4 separate regions of the Homo sapiens genome follow, and all the other regions are linked to region 3. The links are contacts of gene promoters, found by promoter capture Hi-C in blood cells and fetal thymus (Javierre and others, 2016). All regions are on one chromosome and are shown on one strand. Each heading gives the region's core, a stretch centred on a gene start or on the middle of the fragment in contact. The rest is flanking DNA. Distances are from core to core; before and after follow the strand shown.

Evidence for each region. The method cuts DNA at HindIII sites, captures the fragments that hold promoters and counts their contacts. A CHiCAGO score of 5 or more calls a contact.
Region 1: a contact is called between a fragment that was not itself captured here and the fragment with the promoter of PIK3CB in region 3, in 2 of 17 cell types (neutrophils and erythroblasts). The highest score is 10.1, in neutrophils.
Region 2: a contact is called between a fragment that was not itself captured here and the fragment with the promoter of PIK3CB in region 3, in 1 of 17 cell types (total CD8 T cells). The highest score is 5.0, in total CD8 T cells.
Region 4: a contact is called between a fragment that was not itself captured here and the fragment with the promoter of PIK3CB in region 3, in 2 of 17 cell types (erythroblasts and M2 macrophages). The highest score is 5.8, in erythroblasts.

Annotation. Positions count from the first base shown.
Region 1 is chr3:138,690,488-138,697,148 of GRCh38, reverse strand. It overlaps PIK3CB (phosphatidylinositol-4,5-bisphosphate 3-kinase catalytic subunit beta), which reads left to right. Exons shown (of 24, transcript NM_006219.3): 14 at 2,242-2,363; 15 at 6,006-6,149. Among named protein-coding and RNA genes, the nearest start is that of FAIM, 85 kb to the right of the region's middle. The HindIII fragment of the contact is 5,124 bases long and covers 2,821-6,661 here.
Region 2 is chr3:138,625,908-138,632,176 of GRCh38, reverse strand. It overlaps FAIM (Fas apoptotic inhibitory molecule), which reads right to left. Exons shown (of 6, transcript NM_001033031.2): 5 at 3,021-3,070. Among named protein-coding and RNA genes, the nearest start is that of FAIM, 20 kb to the right of the region's middle. The HindIII fragment of the contact is 7,132 bases long and covers 1-6,269 here.
Region 3 is chr3:138,832,514-138,838,998 of GRCh38, reverse strand. PIK3CB (phosphatidylinositol-4,5-bisphosphate 3-kinase catalytic subunit beta) reads left to right here and starts at 4,071. Exons shown (of 24, transcript NM_006219.3): 1 at 4,071-4,304. RefSeq lists a silencer at 3,835-4,574. The HindIII fragment of the contact is 25,969 bases long and covers 1-6,485 here.
Region 4 is chr3:138,597,959-138,604,809 of GRCh38, reverse strand. No RefSeq gene overlaps it. Among named protein-coding and RNA genes, the nearest start is that of CEP70, 7.1 kb to the right of the region's middle. The HindIII fragment of the contact is 5,178 bases long and covers 1-4,432 here.

The DNA of each region.
Region 1 (6,661 bases), core at 4,133-6,632, 140 kb after region 3:
TCATATTATTTCATTAGAATCACAATGGAAAGAATTTCTTGCTGTACTCTTAAAAGCTGTCTTATAGAGAGGTTTGGTGAGTTTTGGCAATTTATTTAATTTTACACTTACATGATTTAATTTTTAATAATTATAAATAATCTTACCAAAGTCATTACTTTCCAATGGTAGAGTTGTTTTTAACCACAACATTGTTGAACCTCTAGTATTACATAATCTTATCTCTCCTTTTCAGTGTTATTTATGGGCAGTGTATTCCAAGTATTAACTGGAGATATGAGGAGTTTTTTTTATTACTGCTATTTCAAAACCCAGGAAATGGTCTCTTCCCAACTCTTCTGCTCATAAAGAAGACTGCTGGTCCATTAGGGCCTTTGGCAAAGCAGGGAGGGGGGATCTATTAGTGAGAAAAATTGGGGATGAGGTTGGTGCTTTATGTCTTTATATCAGTATTTCTCAACCTGTTTTCATCACTATACCTTTAGGAGCTTTTATAGACCCTTTTCCCCCCAATAACCCATGAGATTTTGATTCCGTAGATACATGGTACATCTTTTCATGTACGTATTTGTATCTGTGCTTTATACATAAAAAAAGAGCTAGCCTTATTCAATATAGGGTTAAGAATAGCTAAGTAAAACTTAAGTTTAAAGTTAAAATTTAGGCTGGGTATGGTGGCTCAAGCCTGTAATCCCAGCACTTTGGGAAGCAGAGGCAGGAGGATCACTTGAGTCTAGGAATTTGAGACCAGCAACATAGCGAGACCCTATCTCTACAAGAATAAATAAATGAAATAAAATTAGCTGGGCATGGTGGCGTGTTCCTGTAGTCCTAGCTACTCAGGAGGCTGAGTTGGGAGGATTGCTTGTACCCAGGAGTTCAAGGCTGCAGTGAGGTACGATAGTGCCACTGCACTCCAGGCTGGACAACAGAATGAGACCCTATCTCTTACAAAAAAAAAAAAAAAGGTTAAAATTTAAAAATTACTAGGCATTCCACTGTATTTGCTAAGTAACTATGTAATTTATTCACGTAGGTGAATTCTAATGTGTCAAATTACATATATAAGTTAACAATTTATGCTGAGTGCAGTGGCTCATGCCTGTAATCCCAGAACTTTGGGGCCAAGGTGGGTGGATCACCTGACGTCAGGAGTTCAAGACCAGCCTGGCCAACATGGTGAAACCCCATCTCAAAAAAAAAAAAAAAAAAAAAAATACAAAAAATTAGCTGGGCATAGTGGCAGGCACCTGTAATCCCAGCTACTCGGGAGGCTGAGGCAGGAGAATCTGGGAGGAGGCTTGAATCCAGGAAGGAGAGGTTGTAGTGAGCCAAGATTGCACTATTGTACTCCATCCTGGGCAACAAGAGTGAAACTGTCTCAGAAAAAAGTTAACAATTTATATAAATATATGCTAATAATAGAGTAATTAAATTTTAAAAAATCATTCAAAAGTATTGTTTTCGCAAAAATATTTTTCAAATGTAAAACAACTGAAAAAATTAAGCTAATTTTTAAAAAATTAGTTAACTTTTATTTACTTTTGCTTGATATGAGAAAATGCCTTTTAACTTAGCTGGTAGATACTCATTTAGATATTGTTGACTTTTGGGGGAGGGCTTGCCATAATTATAGATTGAATAACTTGTAGAATTAAATAATAAAATATAAACGGTTTTTATTGAATTCTCAAAGCTTAATTGGTCGGAGAATAAAACTTAACATCCACAAGATAGCCAACAAGCTTGCAGGCCACCTCTCCCAGTATGACTTTGAGCAATCAATTGAAAGAAAATCCTCTAACCACTGCCATCTATTTGCCATAGTTTTACAGCAGTGATCTTGCATACATATCATATACCTTCCATGACGTTGATGTCAGTGGTACTTAGGTGATACCCAGGAAAATCCAATGAGAGAAATTAAATACTAAGGAATAAGATTTTATCAGATGGAATTGAGCTTTAGAAAGGCTACAAATTCAACATTTTTTTCTCTCTCACCCATAAAATTTATTTGGGGGTAAGTACTTCATAGCTTTTCAGACTTAATCTATAGAATGTTTCAACAACAAAGACAATCTTTATTAGTCTCTATTAACAGGAATGGATTTTTGAGGCATCAATAATTAAAAGTGAGCTTTGCCTTCTTTTGACCTATCTTGGTGCTCCTGTGTGTCAAGGAAAATTAGATTACTTTTGTCCCCCATTATTTCTGAACCAGTTTCATTTTTTAAACAGCTTCAGGCGCTGCTTCAGATTTGGCCTAAACTGCCCCCCCGGGAGGCCCTAGAGCTTCTGGATTTCAACTATCCAGACCAGTACGTTCGAGAATATGCTGTAGGCTGCCTGCGACAGATGAGGTATCTTCTGCAGGTGGTTTTCTTTGGGGCAAGGAATAACTTGGGTGGGTTTGGGATGAGGGTGTCTCCTTGATGTCTCATAAGAAAGAAAAGGGCTCAGAATTATTCACAGTTCAAAGCATTTGCTCATGTACTCCTGCCAGCTCCCCAACTCAATGTTTATACTAGAAAAAAAAAACCAAAAGCATGCTAGGTCAGAAGGTCCTCAAGATCACCCTCAGGTTTGATGACTCACTGGGAGGACTCAGAACTCAGCACATAGTCACTTACAGATATAATTTATTGCAGCAAAAGGATACAGAGCAAAATTTAAAGAGGGAAAAAGGTTCATGGGGTGAAGTCATGAGGAAAACAGGCATACATAAGCTTGTAAGAGTTCTTTTCCAGTGAAGTCACCCCAAACACTTTTATTTCTATCAGGAGTGAGTTGTGATAATACAAGTCTGCAAGGGAAGCTTGTTAGAGACTTCGTGGCCACGGTTTTTACGGGCAGCTATCACATAAGCACCCTCTGCCTAGCATGTACCAGATTTCTATACTCCCAGCAGTAAAGTGGATATACAACATAAACCATTATTTGCACAAATAGTTTAGGTGCAGTGAGCCACTCTTATCAATTAGGGAGGGTGGTGGGAATCCTGAAATCTTAATTCCCAGATGCTAGCCATGGGCCAATCCTATAAGCAGGCTTGTTAGAGGATAGCAGCCAAGCCTGCTGTGTTACCTCTTTTCTTCACACAGTCTATCCACCCTCCAGAATTAAGAAATGTTAATTTTTGTCATGGGTTTAAAATATATATATATATATATATATATATAATATATATATATATATATATATATATATATTTTAAGCAAATACATTACAGTTAAAGTTGAAGTCCTCATAGTTTCCTTATCCAGTCTTGATTACTTCTCTTCCTTCTCAGAGGCAAACATTATCATGAATTTGGTGTGTATGCTTCTATATCACATTTTTCTGTTTCATATATATCTATGAAAATATAGACATGGAATTATTATTACACAAATGTGTCTTGCCATATGCATTAGTTTATATCATGCTTTTTAAAAATTTGGCCAGATGGCTGGGTGTGGTGGCTTATGCCTGTAATCCCTGCACTTTGGGAGGCTGAGGCAGGCAGATCACTTGAGGTCAGGAGTTTGAGACCAGCCTGGCCAACATGGTGAAACCCCATCTCTACTAAAAATACAAAAAATTAGCCAGGCGTGGTGGCCGGTGCCTGTAATCTCAGCTACTCAGGAGGCTGAGGCAGAAGAATCACTTGAACCCAGGAGGCAGAGGTTGCAGTGGGCAGAGATCGTACCACTGCACTCCAGCCTGGTTGACAGAGCGAGACTCCGTCTCCAAAAAAAAATAATAATAATTCAGCCAGCTGTGGTGGCTCACACCTATAATCCCATCACTTTGGGAGACAAACGCAGGCAGATCGATGAGCCCAGGAGTTTGAGACCAGCCTTGGCAACATGGTTAAGCCCCGTCTCTACCAAAAATACAGAGACATTAGCTGGGCGTGGAGGTGCGCACCTGTGGTCCCAGCTACTTGGGCGGCTGAGGTAGGAGGATCACTTGAGCCCTGGAGGCGGAGGTTGCAGGAGCTGAGATGGTGCCACTACACTCCAGCCTGGGTGACAGAGTGAGACCCTGTCTCAAAAAATAAAATACAAATACATAAATAAATAAAAATTCAACATCAGGTTTTTGAGGTTAGTCTCTCCCATTATGTTTAAATGTCATTTATTCCTTTCACTACTGTGTAATATTCTGTCATAGGGATATATCTTATTTAATTCATTCCCTATTAAGGAATATTTAAGTTTCTCCACATTTCCCTATTATAAATAATGCTTCAGTGAACATGTTTGTACAGTCTCCCTTGGATGGTGCATTTGTGAGAATCTATGAGATTCACTGAAGAAATGACTGTCTCAGACAATGAAGTTTATCCATTTTCTTTCTAGGTTCAAAAGTGAGGCTTATGTACTTTATGGTTTTTGAAACATAAAAGCCCACAAAATAGTGTGGATACTATGATCCTTTTTTCTTTTTAAAATCGTGTATGTTTTAAGCTGTGTAATAGCCAAAAGTAATTACACAGACTCACCAATAGTGCTTACTTCTGGGGAGTGAAATTAGAAATGTGAGAGAAGAGGAAACAGCTTCCTATTCCTATACTTTCTATTTTTTACACTATTTATAGGTTATATAGTGGGCATGAATTTTACAATAAACCTAATCAAAATTGTGTTATAGATAGTTTTAAAAAATGAATTCCCAGTTGCTTCACCATCTGCTTAAGTTTGCATTGGAGACCTGTTGTGGAGGGGCCACCTGGTTCTCCTTGGGCTGAGCCAAGTGTTTTTCTTAAACGCATTGATCCCTCTGAGGAGATGGCAGTGATCCGTGTATTCCGTGTAGCTAATTCTGGTGGTTTTTCTATTGTGAAATTTCTGGTTATGAGTTTTTGGTTTTGGTATATAGTGCCCTGGGTTTCAGTCCCAGATATCTGCCTTAGACTACTAATTCCTTAACCATTTATTACCCAATACTGTGGAGAGTAAGTGGAGCACTTGGGGCACTTGGGCTTCATACCTTATACTGCTGGAGTTGCCTCTGATAGGAGTGTGTTTACAGGTAGAATGGTTTGGAGATTGACACAAAATAGAGAACCACTAACCTTAATTAATTGAGCTCAGTTAATTACAATGTTATCTGTTATATTATTTCAATGATCAATTCCCACTTATAAATGTATTCACTTTCTCATCCTTCAAACTATTTGAAGTTAAGATTTTAATTGTACATTGGTTATCTGGGACAACTTAACCCTAATAACAGCAAAGGAAAATAAATTGTGAAAGTACTGATGGAATTTTTATTTTAAAAATGATTGTTTTACTAAGCACAAATTTTTTAGCATGATCAGAAATCAGTATTAAAGTACCTAATATTTTTGGTAACTCTTAGCTGACTGAAAATACAGTCATGAATTTTAACAATCTGTAGTAGTCCATTTTCACACCATTATAAAGAATTACCTGAGACTGGGTAATTTATAAAGGAAAGATGTTTAATTGACTCACAGTTCCACATGGCTAGGGAGGCCTCACAAAACTTAAAATTATGGTAGAAGGCGAAGGAGAAGCAAGTACCATCTTCACAAGGTGGCAGGAAAAGGGAAAGAGCAGGGGAAACCACCTCTTATGAAGCCATCAGATCTCATGAGAACTCACTCACTGTCATGAGACTAGCATGGAGGGCCACATTGATTCAGTCACCTCCCACCAGGATGCTCCTTTGACATGTGGGAATTATAGGGATTATAATTTGAGGTGAGATTTGAGTAGGGACAAAAGCCAGACCATATCACAATCTAATTCATTTGATTAAAATATCTCTAGTATCTGTTCTTTGACCCTCTTGACTCCCTTTTCCCCATCTGAAATCTTCAGCTTTTTTTGTGATATTGTAACAGTGGTACAGTGAAGGAAAGCATGTAACAAGCCTGGCCCAAAAGAACCATTGTGTTTCAACAAGTTCACATTTGATAGTTTGATACCAAGGGATCTTTTTCTGGCACAGGTTGTTTGGTTACTCACTGTGTCTTTTGTTTCTTTCAGTGATGAAGAACTTTCTCAATATCTTTTACAACTGGTGCAAGTGTTAAAATATGAGCCTTTTCTTGATTGTGCCCTCTCTAGATTCCTATTAGAAAGAGCACTTGGTAATCGGAGGATAGGGCAGTTTCTATTTTGGCATCTTAGGTAAGTCTTTTATATTTTACTTTGAGCCCACCAGGTGCTTTAGTAACTATAAACAAGCATAATATATTTAATAGAAAAATAGCTGCTTTAGTTTTTTTCTGAACCGTTTATAACATTTATATGGTTTTGGTGCCTTCTCCTGTTTCTTGATACCAGCACTCTTGATTTTTATGATTTGAGATTTGACAAAGTAATTCAGTTATCCAAGACCCTTATGTGTCCCTCCATGCCTGCTTGATTTCTTCATTTCTTCCTTCCTTTCTTTTTTTTTTTTTTGTGTGTGTTTTCTACCTGCTTGATTTTTAACTGAAATTAATAATGTATTGCTATTTTCCAGTAAAGTGTACTTATTGTCTTAATATATTTGGGCTCAATGCAGACCTATTTATTTCATCTAGAAAGTTGTGGGTGGTACTGTCATTACTAGTGTTATTGAGTGAAGGTAAAGGTATACTATAATGACAGCAATTTTATTCAATTTCTTTATTAAGTAGGTAATTTCCAGAAATACA
Region 2 (6,269 bases), core at 1,707-4,206, 210 kb after region 3:
TTACACATGAAGGTCCTATCTGTGCCTCATATTATGCTTTGATTGAGTAGCAGTGATCTAGAGTAAAAAGATTAGCGCCAGGTAGCGCAGAGAAGGAAGGAAGAAAGAAGAGGCTTAGAGGATAAAAAAAAGATTTATGCCAGAAAGCAAAGAAACCAAAAATCAGACTTAAACCCCCTGGCTATTAGCTTCCTGGCAGCCAAAGTAGATAGAACAAGGCCCCCCAGTTAACAAACCAAGCCAAAGAAGGCACAGGATGCCTCAGGGAGAGAAGCCTTTTCCTAGCTCTGGGAAGGATGTGGCCCGTGGCTCCTTATGGGAGGTATGCTGAATACCACAAGCATGTCCTTGGGTGCAGTGTGTTCTTGTCCCCATTTTTAATATTGAGCCTTGAAAAAAGACTTCGGAAGAAAGGGCAAGGGTTAGGTAATACAATCTATATACGTAGCTTCTTGGCAATTGGACAAATATATAATTTTGGCACGATGCTTTGAGATAAAAAGGAGAAAATAAGCTGTAACTCACAGGCAACAAGATGAGTTTGTTGTGGGTACGTACAGTACTGGGGAAGGCTGCCTAGATATGGGGCTGCCCAAACTGCCCTGCAAACTAGGTTGTAGTTACAATGAGAAGGCAACTGTGTTATAAAGAGCTATTTCCAAACACATGTAGTTTCCTGTTAATTACTACAAAACAAAGACATGTGGATGAATATTATTTTCACCTTTTTACAACCACAACAACATTCCTTGTGTATGTGTGTGACAGGGTCTTGCTCTTGCCACCCAGGCTGGAGTACAGGGGTACAACTGTAGTTCATTGCAGCCTTGAACTCCTGGGCTCAAGCAGTCCTCCTGCCTCAGCCTCCTGAGCAGCGGGGACCAGGTACACACCACCATACACAGCTAACTTAAAAAAAAAAATTTATAGAGATAGGGCCTCATCATGTTGCCCAGGATGGTCATGAGCTCCTGGCCTCAAATGATCCTCCCATCTTGGCCTCCCAAAGTTACAACTGCATTTTTTTTTTTTTTTTTGAGACAGGGTCTCACATTCTGTTACCGAGGCTGGAGTGCCGTGGTGCAACCTTGGCTCACTGCAGCCTCAATCTCCCTGGGCTCAGGTAATTCTTCCACCTCAGCCTCCTGAGTAGCTGGGACTATAGGCATGTGCCACCATGCTCTATTAATTTTTGTATTTTTAGTAGAGAGGGGTTTCGCCATGTCACCCAGACTAGTCTCTAACTCCTAGGTTCAAGCAATCTGCCCGCCTCAGCCTCCCAAAGTGCTGGGATTACATGCATGAGTCACCTCGCCCAGTACAACCATATTCTTAATACCATAAAACAGCATTCTCTTTACATGTGCACTGGAGAATTTCTTGAATATGGGAGGAAATGCAATTCAAAAGTGCTGATTCCCTATCTAGAGAATTCCAGGGTAGGAAAAAAAGAACAGGAAGAACCACCAGGTATGGCATTGGGCACACAGTAGGTATCTGATCCATGTTAGTGGTAACTGGAGTTTTTCCAAAGGGGGCCATAAAATACTGAAGCACTCTCCAAGCCTCTCTGCATAAAAGAAGTCTCTATCAGTAGATTTAACCCAGAGAACAGCTCAAGCACTCAATTTAGAGTGAGCCCAAATTAAATTCTTCAGGACTCAGAAACAGAAAAGCATTCATCTTCGTAACTTTTAAATTTCAATTGATTGATTAATTTTTTTAGAGATGGGTCTCACTATGTTGCTCAGGCTGGCCTAAAACTCCTAGGCTCAAGGGTCCCTCTCACGTCAGCCTCCCAAGTAGGAAGCCACTACAGACCTGTGCTACCACGTGTGGCTTCATCTTTGTAATTTTTGATTTCTGGTTTTGTCACCTCCTCAGAAACAGCTATCAGACCAAGTAGGTTCTAGGTGGTCTTCTGAATGAATTAATCCCAGACCTCCTTTCCTCCAACTACCAAAATCACCTTTTCTCACTGTCTTAAACCTATACTATACAAATGAGATAAAAGCAACTACAACATGCAAAATGTGACCAGAGAAGAGAGCTTCCGATTATCTCTAGCCCTGATGTTCACATCTGGAGCCAGCATGAAAGGTGGGTCCCAGGGATAGCACTCCCTGCTTGGCCCACAGACCCCATAAGACATGGGGATTACCACCCAGTGATTTCGGCTCCTAGTCCCACACTTTCTGTTTCCCACTCTCTCCCCTGTGCACACTACTACTGTTTCACTCCTGCTTGAAATTCACTCCTACATTCATCCCATCCACAGCCATAGTAATCCAAGCACCTGATAGCAAAAGTCAAACACACTGGAGTCTATCTAGATGGGGATTTCAGTGTGCCTGGCCACAGTGACTGGGGGAGCCTCTTTCTCCTCGCATTGGCACTGCTGGTCTAAAATTCCACTTGTCCTCCGGGGTTCGTGAGAGTGCCCTTTCCTGTTCGTCTACCTTCGTGTCATCTGATATTGTATCACTCATTTTACAAAAATCTCGCTTTCAGAAAAGAACCATCTGCTTTGAGTGTATGGTGTAAAGCATTCCTAAAGTGTGATCTGTGGACCAGTAGCATTAGCAGCACCTAGGGAAATGTTAGAATTAGCATTTTAACAAGATTCCAGGCAATTTCTGTGCATGCAAGTTTGAGAAGCAGTGATAACGCACCACTTCAAATGGATCAACACAAGAGGACACCAACCTCTGGGGATATAATTTTTTAACTAGGGGCTCTTTTTAGGTATTTTACTTGCTATGCTGGAGCCTGGTCCAGGACAGGAAAGGGAGAGTATGAAGCTAGTGCCAGCTAAGAACATGAGTTGTTTCCAAACTCACGGTACCAGGCACCATCTGGCAAAGGTTTTCAGAATCTGAAGTCAGGAGTACTTAATCCCTTTTTTGTTTTTATCAAGAGGGCCTTGATTCATTATAAGATCTCTATAATTAGGAAATGCAGCAACAATTCAATGGTAACTGAGACACATGGCACTTAGAGTCATCAAATAGTCAACTTACCGCTGTCTCCAATTTTTTACCATTGCACCATACGTCCATAGCATCTTTTTCTGTAAAGGTAACATAAAAACTTTAAGTTATAATTCTGTGATTTAAAGATAAAGTTAACTTTTCCTATTTATTACTTTAGGAAAGGATTGATATACCAGATCTCTAAAACTCCATTAATATTCCAAAACCCAACACTTTTTCATGGCTTTCATGGCTTGCAGACTCTCCTAAAATTTGAAGAAGCTGTGTTTGTTCTTTGTTCATAAAACTATAATGAAACAAAACAACCTTTTAAGAGAAAGTTATGGTCTTAATACAAATTGATGAAGCCTTATGAAACAAAATGAATCCAAAAGGACAATCTTTAAAGAAGGATGCATACAGGCCGGGCGCGGTGGCTCACGCCTGTAATCCCAGCACTTTGGGAGACTGAGGCAGGCGGATCACAAGGTCAGGAGATCGAGACCATCCTGGCTAATACGGTGAAACCCCATCTCTACTAAAAATACAATAATTAGCCGGGCATGGTGGTGGGTGCCTGTAGTCCCAGCTACTTGGGAGGCTGAGGCAGGAGAATGGCGTGAACCTGGGAGGTGGAGCTTGCAGTGAGCCGAGACCGCACCACTGCACTCTAGCCTGGGCAACAGAGAAAGACTCCATCTCAAAAATAAATAAATAAATAAATAAATAAATAAATAAAAAAGAAGGATGCATACAGATGAATGTGAGGAGGGACCCTTCCATACAAAATGCCCTTCAATATTGACCAGATGACTCCCCTGCCTCCCACACTCACCCAACTGGGTGATGGCACAAAAGACCACTGAAAGCAGCTGCCACGGGATTTATATAGGATAGACAGCATGTCCGCTTTAGAAATCTAGTCCAGCTTCTTACTAGGTAGTACAATAATGTCTATTCCTTTTCATAATGGTTTCAGTTTAGAGAAAAATTATTGGATTACAAGTAAAAAATAGGTATAGCTGGTGGACTGCACACTAAGGAACAATATGGAACAAAATGCTGCCCCGACACACTTAAATGGATCAGTTAACTTGCCATAGCTCATCTCAGGGTGGAGGAGTCCCCAGAGCCCCTTGCAAATGTTAGTGTCCTCAGGAGTAGCAGGAGAGAAGACTACACTAATCAAGAAGCCAGAAGTTGAGCTTTGGGTATTACAGTGAAGAAGAGAAGGAAGTATGGCCTGTATGTGCACAAGGAGTCTGGGGGTCAGGTTTGAGGCACCAGTCCAGGGTCTTACTGCCTGGCCATCTGCTCCAGGAGCACAGTCTAAAGGGGGTTCTTTCTCTCCCCATACCTTGAGATGGGAGCCTCACTTAGAGATGGGAGAAAAGCCTTTGAGGTGCGCTAGATGGAAAAAGAGAAAGCCAGAGGGGTCCAGGAGATATGGGCAGGGGTCACCTCAGTGGCAGCCTTCATAGAAAGCTGCTATAGTCACAGGTGCAGGTAAACTCAACTTGTCCCAAGACATGATCAGTGCACACAGTGCTATGATAAACCACGATGATGGTAGAAACTGGTATTTTACTTGCTATGCTTACTGAACATGTACGTGTACTCAGAGTTTCTACAATAGCGTATTAGCATGCCTCTGAAGAACACTACTAATCCAGAAGCCCTAAAAGAAAATGTATTAAATTTGACTACATAAAAGTACAAAAAAAGGCCAGGCACGGTGGCTCATGCCTGTAATCCCAGCACTTTGGGAAGCTGAGGCAGGCAAATCACAAGGTCAGGAGTTCAAGACCAGTCTGGCCAACATGGTGAAACCCCGTCTCTACTAAAAATACAAAAAATTAGCTGGACGTAGTGGCGGGCGCCTGTAATCCCAGCTACTCAGGAGGCTGAGGCAGGAGAATTGCTTGAACCCAGGAGGCAGAGGTTGCAGTGAGCCAAAATTGCACCACTGCACTCCAGCCTGGGCGACAGAGTGAGATCCTGTCTTGGGAAAAAAAAAAAAAAGTAAAAAAGCCACAGCACAATTGAAGAAAAATGCACACACATTAGCAAAGTCATGTAATAAATGACAAACTCTGAAAAAAATATGTCAAACTCACAGCATGAACAAAGGACTAAACTTACTAATGTGAAGACTATGAGAAATCAAGGAGAAAAAGACCAACAACCAAAAGAAAATGGGGCAAAGGGCATGAACAGGCATCATGAGAAAGGAAATACAAAAGAAACTTAAAACTAAGATGCTCAACCTCACTTATGAAAAAGACAAAAACAACCCTGAAATACCATTGCTTCACCTAGCAGAATGCCAAAAAATCCAAAAGTTTGGCTACATGTTCTGCTGGAGAACCTGGGGAAAATAGCTAACGGGGGTACAAAATGGTAAAAGTACCATGGAAGGCAAATGGGCAAAATCTATTAAGATGACAAATACAATTAGTCTTTGACCCAGAAGAATAGAAGTCCTACTTTCCTACTTCCAGAAATGTGTACTAATATAATATGTGTCCTGTTCCAAGAGGCATGCAAACAAAGCTATTCATGCAGCATTGCTTCTAACAGCAAAAGATTAGAAACAGCTCAAGTGTTCATCAGTTGGGAATGAGCTAAATACACCATTTACTATTGAAATTTACTCTGCAGCTATAAAAAATATGAAAAAGTTCTTTAGGTTCTGATATAAAAGGATCTTCGGAATATAATAAGTGAATAAAGCAAGATGCTTTTATGTGGTAAGAGAGAATATGTGTACTCGCTTGAATCTGAATAAAGAAACACTAGAGTGACACTAAAAATGGTTATCTTGATGGGGGAACATGGCAGATGGGAACAGGGATGGAAGCAAGACTTTTTAATGTGTCTTTTAATAGCATTTTGATTTCTGAATCTTGAGTATGTAACCTATTCAAAGTGGTATGTTAATAAAAGGACATATCTAGCTGATAAAATTTCAAATCTATTATGACTCAGTGCTGGATTTAGTGACTCATGGGAGTTGCTGCTGCATGTTCATCTTGGAGCATCTCCTCTTTGCCTGCGGATTCCCTCAGCCGCATGAACAATAGCTAGGGACTTCCCAGGTGAGTCCTGAGCAGGTTATGTTCTGTAAATGCTATCAAAGAGAAACTTTTCAGAACAGAAAGAGAATTTCCTTCCAGCGTGAAGTTTCATATGTACTTTCCTCCTGCCAGCTTTATTTTCCTCCCATGGTATTCAGTGGTGTGGAGACTACAAGAGCTGAGAATGCTAACCAACCCTGTTTTCATTGCCCTTATATGC
Region 3 (6,485 bases), core at 2,822-5,321:
ATTACCCTCCTCTCTATGTTTCTCTGTGTCATATCTCTCTTTCCCCTTCTCTTATAAGGACACTTGTCATTGGGTTTGGACCCATCCTACATCCAGGATGATCTCATCTCTCAAGTTTCTTATTGTTGACTGGGTGCGGTGGCTCACACCCGTAATCCCACCACTTTGGGAGGCAGAGGCAGGCAGATCACCTGAGGTCAGGAGTTTAAGACCAGCCTGGCCAACATGGTGAAACCCCGAATCTAAAAAAATATAAAAATTAGCTGGGCATGGTGTCAGGTGCCTGTAATCTCAGCTACTCGGGGGGCTGAGGCAGGAGAATCGCTTGAACTCAGGAGGTGGAGGTTGCAGTGAGCAGCAGAGATTGCACCATTGCACTCCAGCCTGGGCAACAGAGCAAGACACTCCCTCAGGAAAAAAAAAAAGCAGCTGGGCGCGGTGGCTCACACCTGTAATCACAGCACTTTGGGAGGCTGAGGCGGGTGATCATGAGGTCAGGACTTCCAGACCAGCCTGGCTAATATGGTGAAACCCTGTCTCTACTAAAAATACGATAATTAGCTAGGTGTGGTGGTGTGGGCCTGTAGTCCCAGGTACTCTGGAGGCTGAGGCATGAGAATCGATTGAACTCAGGAGGTGGAGGTTGCAGTGAGCCGAGATCATGCCACTGCACTCCAGCCTGGTTGACAGAGTGAGACTCCATCTCAAAAGAAAAGAAAAGAGAAAAAAGAAAAGAAAAAGAAACATAAGGCCGGGTGCAGTGGCTCATGGCCTCTAATCCCAGCACTTTGGGAGGCCAAGGTGGGCAGATCACAAGGTCAAGAGATTGAGACCATCCTGGCCAACATGGTGAAACCCTGTCTCTACTAAAAATACAAAAAAAAAAAAAAAGAACATAGCTGGGCGTGGTGGTGCACCCCTTTAGTCCCAGCTACTCAGGAGGCTGAGGCAGGAGAATCGCTTGAACTCCGCAGGCAGAGGTTGCAGAGAGCCGAGATCATGCCACGGCACTCCAGCCTGGCGACAGAGTGAGACTCCAACTCAAAAAAAAAAAAAGAAAGAAAAGAAAAAGAAAAAACACAATAGATGGAATAGAACTGCAGAAAAATATGGCAAACACATTATATCTTTTTTCAAAAATAAAAATTAAAAAATTGCTCAAGGGATCCACCCACCTTGGCCCCCAAAGTGCTAGGATTGCAGATGTGAGCCACCACACCTGGCCAACACATTATATCTCTAACATAAAAGAGGTTCTATAAATGGATTTTAATTAAATTAATTAATTAATTAATTTATGTTTTCTGTTTTTGAGATGGAGTCTAGCTCTGTCACCCAGGCTGGAGTGCAGTGGCACTATCTCAGCTCACTGCAAACTTCGTCTCCCAGGTTCAAGCAATTCTGTCTCAGCCTCCCGAGTAGTTGGCACTACAAATGCCCGCCACCATGGCCGGATAATTTTTGTATTTTTAGTAGAGACGGGGTTTCACCATATTGGTCAGGCTGGTCTTGAACTCCTGACCTCAGGTGATCTGCCCGCTTTGGCCTCCCAAAGTGCTGGGATTACAGGAGTGAGCCACAGCACCCGGCCATGCATTTCTATTATTTATTTATTTATTTATTTTTGAGACAGAGTCTTGCTCTGTTGTCCAGGCTGGAGTACAATGGCGTAATCTCAGCTCACTGCAACCTCTGCCTCCTGGGTTCAAGCGATTCTCCCACCCCAGCCTCCAGAGTAGCTGGGATCACAGGCCCGCACCACCACGCCCAGCTAATTTTTGTATTTTTAGTAGAGACAAAGTTTCACCATATTGGCCAGGCTTGGTCTCAAACTCCCGGCCTCAGGTGATCCACCCGCCTCGGCCTCCCAAAGTGTTGGGATTACAGGTGTGAGCCATCATTCCCAACTTATTGTGTTTTTTCTTTTTCAAAACTTATCACTGTGAGGTCATGCAAAACCTTCAAAATATTTATGTAGGCAAATATTTTTCTTTTTTCTATAATGGTTCTGGGCTTCCTGTCTTGCTTAAAATTTCTGCCTCATTGGCCAGTAATCACATCACTTTTGGGAGGCTGAGGCGGGCAGATCACGAAGTCAAGAGATGGAGACCATCCCGGCCAACACAGGGAAATCCCGTCTCTACTAAAAAACAAAAAATTAGCCGGGCATGGTGGTGCGCGCCTGCAGTCCCAGCTACTTGGGAGGCTGAGGCAGGGGAATCCCTTGAATTCAGGAGGCGGAGGTTGCAGTGAGCCGAGATTGTGCCACTGTACTACAGCCTGACGACAGAGCAAGACTCCGTCTCAAAAAAAGAAAAAAAAAATTAGGCGTGTGTGGTGGCGGGTGCCTGTAATCCCAGCTACTCTGGAGGTTGAGGCAAGAGAACTGCTTGAACCTGGGAGGTGGAGGTTGCCATGAGCTGAGATGGTGCCACTGCACTCCAGCCTGGGCAACAGAATGAGACTGTCTCAAAAAAAAATTTTTTTTTCCTCTTAAGTTTCTGTTTTGTAAATTTTTATATTTTTTAATTCTTCTGGATTTTTTTTTTTTTTCCTAGACAGGGTCTTGCTCTATTTCCCGGGCTGGAGTGCAGTGGTGCTACCGTGCTATCTCGACTCACACCAGCCTCGACTTCCCTCGACTTCCTGGGTTCATATTATCCTCCCACCTCAGTCTCCCAAGTAGCTGGGACAACAGATGCACATCACCACACTCACGTCATTTTTGTCAGTCTCGCCATATTGCCCAGGCTAGGTGTGAACTCCTGGGCTCAAGTGATCTGCCCACCTCGGCCTCCCAAAGTGTTGGTATTACAGCCTCTTCTGGAATTTATTTTTCAATGTTCTTGCTTTAAATCGAAAGTCAATTAAAACCAGGATCATTGGCCGGGCACGGTGGCTCATGTCTGTAATCCCAGCCCTTTGGGAGGCCGAGGCGGGCTGATCACCTGAGGTCGGGAGTTCGAGACCAGCCTGACCAACGTGGAGAAACCCCGTCTCTACTAAAAATACAAAATTAGCCAGGCGTGGTGGCGCATGCCTGTAATCCTCAGGAAGGCTGAGGCAGGAGAATCGCTTGACCGGGGGACGCAGAGTTGCGGTGAGCCAAGATCGCGCCATTGCACTCCAGCCTGGGCAACAGTAGCGAAACTCTCATTCAAAATAAGTAAATAAATAAAAAATAAAAAAACTAGGATCATTTCTCAAATAAACTATTGGTTTGTCACTTAATTGATTTGTCACGTTTGCTTTTTATTATGTTGTACTTCTAGATTTTATCCCTGACTACTCAACTATTTGTCCAGGGTAATATAGGAGCATTACGTTAGAATATACTAGCTTTGGAGTGAGTTAAAATGTTGGTTTTCAGTAAGTAAAATTTAAGTGTCCCACTAGAAAGAGGACTGTGATTTTTCGCGGTTGGGGTCAAAGGTAACAGGAAACAAGGTAGGCAAAAAGGGGTAAAGTTTAAGGCTCTGCAGACAAATGTTAGGTGTTGTTACTGCAAAATTGAACAAAGAACAAGAATCTTGGGCTTGAAAGCCTGGACTTTTCCCTAGAAACAACCATTCACAGTGTAGGGACTGAAGGGCCAGCTGTGAGGCAGCCGAGCTAGCGCCCTATCCTCACAAAGGGAGTGAAAGACGGAGACGGGTATCGGGAAAAAAATAAGTGCTGCGTCCAAGAATTTAGGAGTCAGTCCATGTCGCAGAACAGGGAGAAGGGCTGGGAAGAAAAGGCCAGCAAGGAACCTAGGAAGAGCGGAATCTCTCGGGAGGAGGTTATGGAGGCCGCAGCGGGTGATGGGTCTCTCCTGAAGGCGACTTGCCGGGGATTCCCTATTCCGCAGTCCTCTGGGAGTCGCAAAGAGAGTTAGGAAAGGCCGTGCAGCAGCGTCGCAGCCGGGCTGGCAACGGTAGAGGAATCGGCAGTGAGGCCTCTCCCCACACCCTGCCAGCCCAACTGCCGCCGCCGCCGCCGCCGCCACCGCGGGGCCCGGGATTGGCCCGAGGGCGGCGCAGGGCGGGGCGGGGGCTGCTGGGATGCAGGCCTGAGAGGCTGGCGCGCGCGCACACGGGCGCGGGTTCGGCGGCGGCGCGCGCGTGCTCTGTCGGCCTGTGCGGCGCTGCGGCGGAGCGGGCCATGGCAGTGGGGAGGGGGCGAGTGTAGTGCTGCGCGGGGCAGGCGGGAGGTGATCGAGAGAGGCAGGGATGGGGGCGCCGGAGTGGAGCGGTTGCGGCGGCCTGGGCTGCTGACTGCGCACTTGGAATAGTAGCAGGCGGCGGCGGCGGAACGCCAGGCAGGTGAGTGCGGCGGCCGGGACCCGGATGCGGCGCGGCTGAGGGGCGGCTGGGTCGCGGCGCCGGCTGCGGTGCCCCCGGGCGTGCTGGCGGTGCGTTCTAGCTTGCCGCTACCTGCGGCGCTGGCGACTCTTGTGGTTGCACCGCGCTTCCTGCCAGCTTGGAGGATAACCGCCTACCGGCCGGTGGGGGCGTCTGGCTTGGTTGCGGCCCGCCCTGGGCTCTCCAAGGTGAGTGGCGCCCCCCGGCCCCTGGGCGGCAGAGACGCTGCCGGGCGTCCCGGGTCACTGTCGCTTTGGGTCCCGTTCCTGAGGGGCGTTTCTGTGGAGAGACGGCGTACTCGCGCCCCGCGTCTATGCGGACACCTCCGGAACTTCCCGACCCTCAGGTGCCTTTTTGCGCAGAAGTGTATTTCAGAGGCGTGGACCCAGGGTTATTAGGTTATGGACATGTTTTCGAATCCCAACGCCGCTGCTGACCAGTCCTGGGGCCTTGGGCCAAAATATCCTGATGTGTTAAATGGAAATAATAATACATACACCATAAGGTTGTTGTGAGGTTAGGCATAACTGAACAAGTGCTAAGTAAATGATACCCCTGCTGCAGCATCTCGTGTTAGCTATTGCTAATTCCTGGCTGCTGGCGTGCGTTTGGGGGCACATTTATTTCCGATCTGCTCTGGTGTTGCAGTAACCGATACTGGAGTTGCTTAATATTGGAGCCTGTTAACCTCGCAGTGGCCAAAATAGAATCCTATAGTCCCTTACTAGAATCCTGCAGTCTCTTCCCGCAGGGCTGAATTGGAACCCTGTCTCAGGTACTGAGTGGGAATTACTGCTGAAATGAAACCGAGCAAATTCGGGATTCGCTTAGGATGAAAGATGGTGGGACGTAAACTTGAAGTGCTTTGCTGTTTCATCTCAAGTGACACTTGAACTCTGCCACTTGTTACAGAGTTATAAACACACGAAGAGTATGGAAACAGACTCTTTTTTCTGCATTGCTACATCCAAAGGGAGTGACAAGTGCTTTTGTAAACATCATTGTGGGCAGTGTGACTGTCTGGTGAAGTCATGATAATTAAATGAGTACTTATTTTGAAGCACTGAATGGAAGTTTGGAGATATGATTCGTAATAAAATTGTCTCCAACGAGTCAGAGGTCTCAGCAGTTCATTAATCATTTGGGGATTTTTATGCTACATTGTAAGATTTTATGGTAAAAGCAGAACTGTTTAAGTCATAATAATGTAGCACAGGAAAGGGTGGTCAGATAAGGATCTTAACCCAGTTTCAGAATGCAGGTATGGAAGAAAGTAAAGTCTTTTTTCTGACCAGGTGCGTTGGCTCACGCCTGTAATCCCAGCACTTTGGGAGGCCGAGGCGGGCGGATCAATTGATTCCAGGAGTTCGACACCAGCCCAAGCAACATGGTGAAACCCCGTCTCTACCAAAAACACAAAAATTAGCAGGGCGTGGTGGCGGGCGCTTGTAATCCCAGCTACTTGGGAGGCTGAGGCAGGAGAATCCCTTGAACCCGGGAGGCGGAGGTTGCAGTGAGCCGAGATGGCACCACTGGACTCCAGCCTGGGCAACAGAGGGATACCCTGTCTCAAAAAGAAAAAAAAAAAATCTTTTTGAGACCGAATCTTGCTTCTTTTTTAAAAAAAAATTATTGTTGTTTTTTGAGGCAGGGTCTCGGTCTGTCGCCCAGGCTGGAGTGCAATGTCGCCATCTTGGCTCACTGCAACCTCCGCCTCCTGGGTTCAAGCGATCCTCCTGCCTCAGGCTCCCTAGTGGCTGAGACTACAGGGGCGTGCCACCACGCCTGGCCAATCTTTCAATTTTGTTTTTTTTTTTTTTTTTTTGAGACGGAGTTTCGCTTTTGTTGTCCAGGCTGGAGTGCAATGACGCGATCTCCAGCTCACCGCAACCTCCGCCTCCCGGGTTCAAGCGATTCTCCTGCCATAGCCTCCCGAGTAGTTGGGATTACAGGCATGTGCCACCACACGCGGCTAATTTTGTACTTTTTTTGGTAGAGACGGGGTTTCTCCATGTTGGTCAGGGTGGTCTCGGACTCCCAACCTCAGGTATCCGCCCGCCTCGGCCTCCCAAACTGCTGGGATTACAGGAGGAAGCCACCGCGCCCGGCCCAATCTTTGTATTTTTGGTAGAGAGGTGGTTT
Region 4 (6,851 bases), core at 594-3,093, 230 kb after region 3:
AGGGGTTTCAGAGTACAGCAGAGTCTGGCCTGCCCATGAGGTACACCCAACTCTGCCCAGAATAGGGAAAGCAGTCCACGATTCCTCCATTGGCTTGTTCTGTGCCACTGTCTCCTCTCTGGGCATAGTTTCTGGGGTACCTGGAATTGAGGAACATACCAGTTTGGGCTGCATTTTCCACCTACCTATCCTACAAGCCCAGGACATCTGAGGTAGTATATTAGTTCATTTTCACGCTGCTGATAAAGACATACTCGAAACTGGGAACAAAAAGAGGTTTAATTGCACTTACAGTTCCATATGGCTGGGGAGGCCTCAGAATCATGGCGAGAGGTGAAAGGGCACTTACATGGTGGCAACAAGAGAAAATGAGGAAGAAGCAAAAGCAGAAACCCCTGATAAACCCATCAGATCTTGTGAGACTTATTCACTATCATGAGAATAGCATGGGAAAGACCAGCCTCCATGATTCAATTACCTCCCCTTAGGTCCTTCCCACAACACATCAAAATTCTGGGAGACACGATTCAGTTGAGAGGTGAACGGGGACACAGATAAACCATATCATTCCACCCCTGGCACCTCCAAATCTTATGTCCTCACATTTCAAAGTCAATTATGCCTTCCCAACAGTTCCCCAAAGTCTTAATTAATTTCAGCATTAACCCAAAAGTCTAGTCCAAAGTCTCATCTGAGACAAGGCAGTCCCTTCCGCCTATGAGCCTGTAAAATCAAAAGCAAGCAGCCAAGCATGGTGACTCACACCTGTAATCCCAGCAGTTTGGGAGGCCAAGGTGGGTGGATCACCTGAGGTCAGGAGTTCGAGACCAGCCTGGCCAACATGGCGAAACCCTGTCTCTACTAAAAATACAAAAATCAGCCAGGCGTGGTGGGCGCCCATAGTCCCAGCTACTCTGGAAGCTGAGGCAGGAAAATCACTTGAACCTGGGAGGTGGAGGTTGTAGTGAGCTGAGATCACATCACTGCACTCCAGCCTGGGCAACAGAGCGAGACTCCATCTCAAAAAAAAAAAAAAACAAATTGACTGCCCTACTAGATTTCAGACTTGTATGGGCCCTGTAACGCCTTTGTTTTGGCCAATTTCTCCCATTTGGAATGGCTGTACTTACCCAATACCTGTACCGCCATCATTGTATCTAGGAAGTAACTAGCTTGCTTTTGACTTTTTTTTTTTTTTTTTTTGAGATGGAGTCTTGCCCTGTCACCCAGGCTGGAGTGCAATGGCATGATCTCGGCTCACTGTAATTTCCACCTCCTGGGTTCAAGCGATTCTCCCGCCCCAGCCTCCTGAGTAGCTGGGACTACAGGCACCCACCACCACGCCCAGCTAATTTTTGTATTTTTAGTAGAGACAGGGTTTCGCCATGTTGGCCAGGCTGGTCTCGAACTCCTGACCCCAGGTGATCCGCCCACCTCGGCCTCCGAAAGTGCTGGGATTACTGGTGTGAGCCACTGCACTCGGCCTGGGCCATCAAATTTTAAAGCTCCAAAATGATCTCCTTTGACTCCAGGTCTCACATCCAGGTCAGGCTGATGCAAAAGGTAGGTTCCCATGGTCTTGGGTAGCTCCACCCCTGTGGCTTTGCAGGTACGGCCTACCTCCCAGCTGCTTTCATGGCTGGCATTGAGTGCGACTTTCCAGGCTCATGGTGCAAGCTGTCAATGGATCTACCATTCTGGGGTCTGGAGGACAGTGGCCCTTTTCTCACAGCTCCACTAGGCAGTGCCCCAGTAGGGACCCTGTGTGGGGGCTCCCACCCCACATTTCCCTTCTGCACTGCCCTAGCAGAGGTTCTCCATGAGGGCCCCGTCCCTGCAGCAAACTTTTGCCTGGACATCCAGGCATTTCCATACATCTTCTGAAATCTAGGCGGGGGTTCCCAAACCTCACTTCTCGACTTCTGTGCACCCACAGGTGCAACACCATGTGGAAGCTGCTAAGGCTTGAGGCTTCCACCCTCTGAAGCCACAGCCCAAGCTCTATGTTGGCCTCTTTCAGCCATGGCTGGAGCAGCTGGGACACAGTGTACCAAGTCCCTAGGCTGCACACAGCATGGGGACCTTGGGCCCAGCCCATGAAACCACTTTTTCCTCCTGGGCCTCTGGGCCTGTGATGGGAGGGACTGTTGTGAAGGTCTCTGACATGGCCTGGAGACATTTTCCCCATGGTCTTGGGGATTAACATTAGGCTCCTTGCTACTTACGCAAATTTCCGCAGCTGGCTTGAATTTCTTCTCAGCAAATGGGCTTTTCTTTTCTGCTGCATCAGCAGGCTGCAAATTTTCTGAAATTTTATGCTCTGTTTCCCTTTTAAAGTGGAATGCTTTTAACAGCACCCAAGTGACATTTTGAATGCTTTGCTGCTTAGAAATTTCTCCCACCAGATACCCTAAATCATCTCTTTCAAGTTCAAAGTTCCACAAATTTCTAGGGCAGGGGCAAAATGCCACCAGTCTCTTTGCTAAAACATAACAAGAGTCACCTTTGCTCCAGTTCCCAACAAGTTCCTCATCTCCATCTGAGACCACCTCAGCGTGGACCCTATTGTTCATATCACTATCAGCATTTTTGTTGAAGCCATTCAACAAATTTCTAGGAGGTTCCAAACTTTCCCACATCCAAAGTGTTCCAACCTCTGCCTGTTACCCAGTTCCAAAGTCGCTTCCACATTTTCGGGTATCTTTTCAGCAACATCCCACTCTACTGGTACCAGTTTACTGTATTAGTTCATTTTCATGCCGCTGATAAAGACATACCCAAAACTGGGAACAAAAAGAGGTTTAACTGGACTTACAGTTCCACATGGCAGGGGAGGCCTCAGAATCATGGGGGGAGGCAAAAAGTACTTCTTACATGGCAACAGCAAGAGAAAATGAGGAAGAAGCAAAAGCAGAAACCCCTGATAAACCCATCAGATCTTGTGAGACTTATTCACCATCATGAGAATAGCACAGCAAAGACTGGTCTCCATGATTCAATTACCTCCCACTAGGTCCCTCCCACAACGTGTGGAAATTCTGGGAGATATACTTCAGTTGAGATTTGAATGGAGACACAGCCAAACCATATCAGGTAGGAATAGTAACTTATTACCTGACAGGCAGGACTGTTAATGGAGAGAAACAAAGTCTGAACAGAACATTGTTGAAGGTATTGAACATCAATATAAAATATACCTGTTCAGGCTGATCCTGCTTTTGAAGGTGATCTCACTCTCACATTGTTACCTTGTTTCCCAGGAAGTACCTAGATGCTGTTCTGACTTCATAAACTGCCTATCAGCAACATCCCCATAGACATCACTGATTTATTTTAAGAGAGCAGCTAAGGCTGGGTGCGGTGGCTCACGCCTGTAATCCCAGCACTTTGGGAGGCCGAGGTGGGTGGATCACCTGAGGTCAGGAGTTCGAGAACAGCCTGGCCAACATGGAGAAACCCCATCTCTACTAAAAATACAAAATTAGCCGGGCGTGGTGGCACATGCCTGTAATCCCAGCTACTCAGGAGGCTGAGGCAGGAGAATCGCTTGAACCCGGGGAGGCGGAGGTTGTGGTGAGCCGAGATTGCACCATTGCACTCTAGCCTGGGCAACAAGAGCAAAACTCCGTATCAAAAAATAAAAATAAAAAAAGAGAGCAGCTAAAAGCACTTTCATTCACAATAGTCCATGTTTTCATTGGTCCTTCTTTTGAAAAGGGAATTGTTAATGGATTGACTGATTTTCTTTCTTTCTCTCTCTCTCCCTTTCTCCCAACCTCCTCCTTCTCTTCTTCTTTTTCTTTCTTCTTTCTGCTTCCTTTCTTCTTCCCCTTTCCTTCTTTTTCTTTTCCTCCTCCCCCTCCTCCCTCCTTCTCCTCCTCCCCCTCCTCCCTCCTTCTCCTCCTTCTTTTTCCTTTCTTCTTCTTTTCTTCCTCTTCTTCACAGGCTATATTGCTCAGGCTAGTCTTGAATTCCTGGGCTCAAGCAATCCTTCTGCCTCTGCCTCCCGAGTAGTGGGACTGTAGGCATGCACCACCTCCCTTAGCTTGGTTGATTTTCTGAGCTTACTTTTTAAATAGCATGGAGACCAAAATAAAAAGGAAAAGTTAATCTGATATCTACAAATTTTAACATTTTCCATGTTCCCTTCCAGCATTGGTCTAGCATGACTGTTGGCTATGTGTTCAAGGAAGAGGCATTAGCACTTTAGAAACAAGCCCCAGGGCCCAGGATTCTGGCTTCTGCGCCCGCCTTAGAGGGTTGTGTGACAGAACCAGTGCCAGTAACCACAGTCTCCCAGTGCTGGCCAGGCTGCCGCTGCTTAGGCACTTCTTTCTCAGCACAAGGAGGCTGTGGCTGTCTCTACAAAAATACGGAAAGGGAACAAGCAGCCAAGTAAGGTGATTGTGTAGAACTTCAGACCAGAAAAGCTTGGACAATTTCAGGAGAAAATAGGTACTGGTCTGAGTTATCTGGAGACTGGAATTTATAGTACAGCCTTAATTAGAGCAAGAGGCAAAGGAAGGCAGTACAGACACGTGTTCCAATTGGTCAAGACCTTTTTTTTTTTGAGACAGAGTCTCATTCTATCACCCAGGCTGGAGTGCAGTGGTGTGATCTCGGCTCATTGCAACCTCAGCCTCCCAGGTTAAAGTGATTCTCCTGTCTCAGTCTCCCGAGTAGCTGGGATTACAGGCATGCACCACCACGCCAGGCTAATTTTCTTTTTTTTTTTTTTTTTTGAGACGGAGTCTCGCTGTCGCCCAAGCTGGAGTGCTATGGCGCGATCTCGGCTCACTGCAGGCTCCGCCCCCTGGGTTCACGCCATTCTCCTGCCTCAGGCTCCCAAGTAGCTGGGACTACAGGCGCCCACCACCTCGCCTGGCTAATTTTTTGTATTTTTAGTAGAGACGGGGTTTCACCATGTTAGCCAGGATGGTCTCGATCTCCTGACCTCGTGATCTTCCCGCCTCAGCCTCCCAAAGTGCTGGGATTACAGGCATGAGCCACCGCACCCGGCCATAATTTTTGTATTTTTAGTAGAAATGAGGTTTCACCATGTTGGCCAGGCTAGTCTTGAACTCCTGACCTCAAGTGATCTGCCTGCCTTGGCCTCCCAAGTGCTGGGATTACAGGTGTGAGCCACTGCACTGGGTCTGGTCAAGACTTTTAACATTTTTTATCTTGTTTGAGAAATTTTAAAGCTATAGAAAAATACAGAGAATAATACACATATTCCTGCCTCCCAGAATTGACCATCATTAAATATTGACTTAGTATTAAAATTTTAATAGAAGAAAATCCCAATACTATTACTCTTTTCTCCTTCCAAAAGGCCAACATTCCCTTGAGTTTGGTGTGTAGACTGTGTTAGACTTCCTAGTATAAATTATAGCCTTCATTAGCTGTTAAAACAGATCTTTTAATCTGTGTGTTCCTTCCAAGTCCACAGTCTATAATTTTATATACATGAATAAATGTTCTTGGGCATGATATTCTCCTGCTTTTAAAAATTATTTAAATGGGTTGGACACAGGGGCTCATGCCTGTAATCCCAGTGCTTTGGGAGGCTGAGATGGGAGGACTACTTGAGGCCGGGAGTTTGAGACCAGGCTGGGCAACACAGTGAGACCATGTCTCTGAAAGAAATATATAGCTTTAAATGGTACCATTAATGGCAACTGGGAATTTGTTTGACATTAAGAGAGGATTATAGGGAGCTCATCCTCTGGAATTCATATCACTTTCATCATTATATTTACTCAGTACTTATTGGTCATCTGTTACCTGGCAGGTGCTGTGGCAGGGAATACAACAGTGAACAACACTGATCATTTCTCCCACTCATGACACTTACATTCTAGTGGAGGAGGTAGTCACAAAAATATGTACAAATAAATTGTGGTAGCCATTCTTCAAGATGGGCCCCAGGGATCCCCACTTCATGGTATTCATCTCCTTGTGTAGTCCTCTCACATTTTACCACGGTTGGTCTATGTGACCAATAGCATATGGCAGAAGTAGTGATATGTAACTTCTGAGATTAGGTTATAAAAAAGACTGCGGTTTCTGTTTTAGTTGCTCACATGCTGTCTTTGGGCTGTGTACTCTGTGGGAAGCTGCCATGTTATGAGGACACTAAGGCAGCCTGGGGAAAGGCCCACTTGAGGAGGAATGAACTGAGGCTTGCCAATAGCCGCATGAGTGAGTTTGAATGTGAATCCTTTAGCCCCACCTGAACCTTGAGATGACAGTAGCCCAGACCAAAAGGTTGACTGAAACCCCATGAAAGATCTTGTCCAGACCATCCAGCTAAGCCCTACTGTATTCCTGACCCACAGAAACATTGTGATGATAAATGTTTATTTTAAGCTGCTATGTTTTAGGGTAATTTTTATGTACCAATAGATAACTAATACACAGACATTAGCAATAACTAATACACAGTAAATAATTGCAAATTGTAATAAATGCATATACCAATCTGATGGTAAAGCAGATGTCTGTCACAAGAAGTGGTATGGTCAAGTGGTTAATGACATAGGCTTTGGAGCCTGAATGCCTAGGTTCAGATCCTGGCTTTGCCATATACTAGTGTGTGACCGTGGCAAATCATTTCAAAATTTTTTTGGCTTCTATTTCCTAACTTGCTCATTTGTAAAACAGATAATAACAGTACTTATATTAAGGTTGTTGCGAAGATTCAACAAGTTAGAAAATGAAAGTGCTTAGCTCGGAGCCTAGCACATTTTAAGTGCCCAATTAACATAACTATTGTTATTCTGTATGGATTATTGAGCATTTGTCATTAATATATTTGCCTCAGCTGTTTGCATATTGTCCTTCACATT